Regions from separate parts of the Homo sapiens genome. Here region 2 is linked to region 1. The links are contacts of gene promoters, found by promoter capture Hi-C in blood cells and fetal thymus (Javierre and others, 2016). All regions are on one chromosome and are shown on one strand. Each heading gives the region's core, a stretch centred on a gene start or on the middle of the fragment in contact. The rest is flanking DNA. Distances are from core to core; before and after follow the strand shown.

Region 1 (3,008 bases), core at 372-2,871:
CAAATGGAATTATACAATAACTACAAAATTTTTTTGCCTGGCGTCTTTCAGTTAGTAAGGCACATTTAAGTTTTATCCAGGGCTTTTGTGTAAGTAAATAGCTTGTTTCTTTTCTTTTTTTAAAAAATAATATTCCATTGCATGGATATATCACAGTTTATTTATTTATTACTTGAAGAATATACAATTTTGGTAATTATTAATAAAACTGCTCTAAACGTTTGTTTACAGAAGTTTGAGAGAATACAGGTTTTTGATGTCCTTGGATGAATATCTAGAAATAGGATTGATGACTTGTATGGTAAGTCTATGCATATTTCTAAGAAATTGCCAAGCTGTTTCCCAAAATGTCTGTAGCATATTTCATTCCTGGGAGCAACAAATGAGAGTTTCTGTTACTATATATTTTAACACCATTTAAGTTTGCTTTTAAATGCTGTTGACTCGATGTTCAACATTGAGGAACCGATAAACTGTTTTTTAAAGTGGCTGCACCATTAGACATTCCTATCAGCAATAAATGAGGATTCCAATTTGTCCACTTCTTTCTCAACACTTGTTTTTATTTTTTATTTTAGCCATCTTAATAGGAGATGCCTCAAATATATTTCTGTCAAAGCCTTCATTTTACATATTTAGTTCACTCAACTTATGGAGTAGAATGAAAAAAACTGTAAAGCCAATTTTCATTACTAAACCAACTAGCCACATACATTTGCTTTCTCCAAAAATAGAATATCTTACTCACTTTCAATTCTAATATATGTTTTCATCTTCATGAAAACCATGCATTTATTTTTCAGCTCAATTTCTAAGTTGTACAGGTAGGAAAGCAAACAGAGAGGAGACAAAAAATAAGGAGCCTCATCATAACATTGTAGTCTGAAAGAAATGTCACCATTACTTTCAGCACTTGTTACTGATACTCTCTTTGCTATGATCTTATGGGATTCTCCTGCAGAAGTGACCAAACATTCTTTCATGGTAGTCTGAAAATGGAAGAAGCAAAGTAATGAAAATATGACAGCATTCCCACCACGTCCCAGAATAGATCTAAAGATGAAGACTAACAACAAGCCACATCCTCAAAGAAATATTTATCAAGACAAGGAAAAAACAGAACTATACTATCCTGACTTGAATAAGCAAGGTTTCATATGAAAATCATTATTTCAAATATTCCTTTTATTTGGCACTGCAGAGGTTTTTACATATCAAAATGGTTAAGATTTGACATGAATGAGGTGTATGTAGGTTTGCGGGGGTGGGGGTGGAGTTCTTTTTGTTTTGTTTTTAATAATAAAAGCAACTGTTAACCGAGCTGTGGGGTGGGGGCAAAAAGAGCCAGAAGGCGGCGCACACCTCAGGACTATTCTTGTTTTTTTAGAACCATTCTTATTCTGGGGTTTCTTCACCTACCCAAGTCTCGCCTGAAGCCAGGTACAGCTCTATTCCACTACATGACCCTCTGCCCAGGAAGTTGGAATCTTCACCTAGCAACACAGTTCAGATCGAGATTGACAGGACCATGAGCCAATCACAAAGCTAGATTTGCTTTCCAGTCTAACAGTGGCCGTTGTGCTGGAGACAGTGAGGAGAAGAAAGGGGCGGGACAAGGGCAAAGGCGTTAGAAGTCACCACCGACCCAGCCCCTCAACAGCAAGTTGGTTCTTCAGCATTAAGATCCAGGTGTCAGCCTATGTCTTTATATTGTCAAGATGTCTCTTTCTAAGAAGTTGACTTTAGACAAACTGGATGTTAGAGGGAAGCGAGTCATCATGAGAGTAGACTTCAATGTTCCCATGAAGAAGAACCAGATTACAAACAACCAGAGGATCAAGGCTTCCATCCCAAGCATCAAGTACTGCCTGGACAATGGAGCCAAGGCAGTAGTTCTTATGAGTCATCTAGGTCGGCCTGATGGTGTTCCCATGCCTGACAAATATTCCTTAGCACCTGTTGCTGTTGAGCTCAAATCCTTGCTGGGCAAGGATGTTCTGTTCCTGAAGGACTGTGTAGGCGCAGAAGTGGAGAAAGCCTGTGCCAACCCAGCTCCTGGTTCAGTCATCCTGCTGGAGAACCTGCGCTTTCATGTGGAGGAAGAAGGGAAGGGCCAAGATCCCTCTGGAAAGAAGATTAAAGCTGAGCCAGATAAAATAGAAGCCTTCCGAGCATCACTTTCCAAGCTAGGGGACGTCTATGTCAATGATGCTTTTGGCACTGCACACCGCGCTCATAGTTCCATGGTGGGAGTGAATCTGCCCCATAAAGCATCCGGATTCTTGATGAAGAAGGAACTAGATTACTTTGCTAAAGCCTTGGAAAACCCAGTGAGACCCTTTCTGGCTATACTTGGTGGAGCCAAAGTGGCAGACAAGATCCAACTTATCAAAAATATGCTGGACAAAGTCAATGAGATGATTATTGGTGGTGGAATGGCTTATACCTTCCTTAAGGTACTCAACAACATGGAGATTGGTGCTTCCCTGTTTGATGAAGAGGGAGCCAAGATCGTTAAAGATATCATGGCCAAAGCACAAAAGAATGGTGTAAGGATTACTTTTCCTGTTGATTTTGTTACTGGGGACAAGTTTGACGAGAACGCTCAGGTTGGAAAAGCCACTGTAGCATCTGGCATATCTCCTGGCTGGATGGGTTTGGACTGTGGTCCTGAGAGCAACAAGAATCATGCTCAAGTTGTGGCTCAAGCAAGGCTAATTGTTTGGAATGGGCCGTTAGGAGTATTTGAATGGGATGCCTTTGCTAAGGGAACCAAAGCCCTCATGGATGAAATTGTGAAAGCCACTTCCAAGGGCTGCATCACTGTTATAGGGGGTGGAGACACTGCTACTTGCTGTGCCAAATGGAACACTGAAGATAAAGTCAGCCATGTCAGCACTGGAGGCGGTGCCAGTCTAGAGCTTCTGGAAGGTAAAATCCTTCCTGGAGTAGAGGCCCTCAGCAACATGTAGTTAATATAGTGTTACTTCCTTCTGTTTTCTGTCCAT
Region 2 (3,008 bases), core at 215-2,714, 56 kb after region 1:
TACACACGAGAAACTGGAAGCTTGATAATTAGTCCAGGGATAAAGTAAGGTAACAAACAAATAAGGAATGACCCATTTTAGCAATATCAGTCCTTTCTGCTCAAATGCTCTTACTCCTGCTTATCAGAAAATTTCACATTATACATTAAGAAATGATTAAATCTTGGACCTCAAAGACTTTTAAGAGATCCCCAATATATTTCAAATAGCCAAGAAAAGATAATGTCTTAAATTTTTGCTTCTTAGAATTTACCACAAAAAAAATTTCATGGAACCTTCCATTAAGATCCTAATTTCTTAATTATCTCGGGTTTTCTGCAGAAAGTCCACTTTTTTTTCTCAAGCAATATAGTTGACCTACTCACGAAAAAAAATCTGTGGATATATTGAAGATATATTCACAACATATCTATTAGCTTTAATTTCCTTTTAATATTTGAAGTTGTTCACCACTAGTGGGAGGGGTTTTCCCCAAACTCAGCTTTCTGCATGGCTTATTTTGAGGCTGTAGATATCCCAGGTGATGTAGGATTCCAGTCTGAGAAATATGACCTGTAAGGTCATTTTTCAGCAAAGAATTATCATTGTTAATACAGAAAATTGAAAGACCCTGGGAGACTGCCTCCAAATGCCTGGTCATTAGAGGAGAGCATCTGGAGTCAGCATCTGAAGTGAGAGTTGGAATTAGTAATGAGAGAAAACAGGGAAAAGAGAACTTCCAGAACACTTTGATATCTATTTCACATTTTCTTAAGTGCTCACACACCAACAGCTATATTCTGTGAAGAAAGGCTGAGATTCAGCTACATAGCCTTGGACCGTTAGCCTACTTAGTGCAATTAAGACTTTGACTTTCTTGTATTTTCAGATGATAATTACCGATAGGAAAATAATCATCAATGATGTACAGGCTAGTCACTGTAAGATGAACACACAGAGGAGATTAGTATTAATTAAATCTTTTTTTCCCTAACATTCCCATTCTTGGCAAACATAAACATCTCATACACACCACCTGTAGACATTCCCAAACCTTTCCAAGCCCAATACCCTTTCACAAACATACAGCAAAAACCATGTGAAAATCACCACTCCACCTAGAAGCCAAAATTTACGCTGAAACTGTACTTACCCTACCTCATATTGTAGAAATTATGGTTTTTTTTTATTTTTAATTATAAGTTACATTTAACATTAAATGTTATTTTTCATATTGCAACCTTCTGTGCTTCAGGAACTTTTCTTATCTCTCTAGGGGATATGTTTTACCCCTTGCCAGCACCTTGTGGTACATCATCTTAGCAATTTGACGAAGTCTGTTGGGAGATGAAGTGTGTTGCCACATTGAAATATACTTTAAAAACTTTAGACTTTAATTATCCTATTTCAGTTTCTCAGGTTGCAAGATTATGGTCAGGAAAGTGAATGAATGTGTGAATTATTCTCTTAATTTGCATTATTGTCTGAATATACTCTGAGATTATATTTTTAATTATTTGACATAATTAAAAACATTTAATAAATACTCATGTATATTTGGTGACTGATACTAACCTTGGAACATAAACGAAACATAAAAATGAAAAATATTTGACATTTTTATTTCAAATTTCAGTGGTAATTGGGCTAATAGACTATATGTCCCTTATGAACAAGGAGCACCTTGTGCCAGTTGCCCAGATAACTGTGACGATGGACTATGCAGTAAGTTTGAAGTGATTAACTTGATAATAAAATAAAATGATCTGACATTTCTTCTAAGAATTGGGAAATCTGAAGACAACCAACTTAAGCAATGCCTTCATGCAAAGGACAAAAAGGAAAAAAAAGTCTGTCTGGCTCTGTCGCCCAGGCTGGAGTGCAGTGGTGCCATCTCGGCTCACTGCAACCTCCGCTTGCAGGGATCAAGTGATTCTTGTGCCTCAGCCTCCTGAGTAGCTGGGACTACAGGCACGTGCCACCACACCTGATTAATTTTTGTACTTTTTGTAGAGACAGGATTTTGCCATGTTGGCCACACTGGTCTCGAACTTCTGGCCATCAAGCGATCTGCCCACCTCAGCCACCCGAAGTGCTGGGATTACAGGTGTGAGCCATCACACCCAGCCTTACAGAGCATTTTTAAGTGAAAATTTTACACTGTTCAGTATCTATGTATCATTTGCAATGTAAAATTTGGCCTGTTATCATATGTAACCTGTTGAAACACTTACCATCCATGTTACATATTGGCATATATGAAAATGTGTCTGTGGAAATAACATTGTAATTAAATAGGAAGTTTATTCTCATCAAAGTTTATATCATTATACAAAATACAGCATTATTTTAAAAAAGGAAAACAAATATACATCTAAGAGTATGAGACCATAGAATATGGCTCAATCCAGACAGGGACTCCAAATACTGCAATTCCTCATATGCTAATGAACTTATCATACTAACTTCCTCATTTTTGCCATAGTGTAGTTACAATCATCAAGTTTAGTATAATAATCACTTGCACTTCTGCTTGCTAATAATTTTGTATACATTTTTAAAGTCAAAATCAAATCTGTATGTAGTATTAGTTTGCAGAAGCCTCAAAAATATTTTAGCAAAAAGGAGTAAATAAATTTATATCTCATACAATTTCATTTTGTGCTTTTATAAATAAAAGTACAAAGAGATGATATTTTTGTTTAACTAGGATATGTTACTAAAATTATTACTGACAATGCAGTTGACCCATTCATTGAGATTTTTACCTTTCAAATGCATTCACCTGACTGAATTGTAACATTTTTTTTCTGACTGAATTGTGTAGCTATAATTCAGAATACTGATAATACCAAAGCTATAAATCAACTAAAGAAGGAAAATCCAAATATTTCCAGCACTGCCAAATGCTGTTTTCTAAGAAGCTTGAAATTTATCTTATTAGTAATAATCAGCCAACTGAAAGATTTTAAACAGAAGAATGATAAGATCTGAACTGTGTTTTCTAAAGAGCTCCCGACAGTAGTAGG

The links. Contacts are between HindIII fragments. The CHiCAGO score rates a contact against its expected background, and 5 or more counts as called.
Region 2: a contact is called between a fragment that was not itself captured here and the fragment with the promoter of PGK2 in region 1, in 2 of 17 cell types (erythroblasts and megakaryocytes). The highest score is 11.5, in erythroblasts.

What each region holds. Positions count from the first base shown.
Region 1 is chr6:49,785,898-49,788,905 of GRCh38, reverse strand. PGK2 (phosphoglycerate kinase 2) reads left to right here and starts at 1,621. Exons shown (of 1, transcript NM_138733.5): 1 at 1,621-3,008. The coding sequence starts at 1,719. The coding sequence ends at 2,972. The HindIII fragment of the contact is 4,736 bases long and covers 1-3,008 here.
Region 2 is chr6:49,729,859-49,732,866 of GRCh38, reverse strand. It overlaps CRISP3 (cysteine rich secretory protein 3), which reads left to right. Exons shown (of 8, transcript NM_006061.4): 7 at 1,616-1,704. Among named protein-coding and RNA genes, the nearest start is that of CRISP3, 13 kb to the left of the region's middle. The HindIII fragment of the contact is 2,883 bases long and covers 23-2,905 here.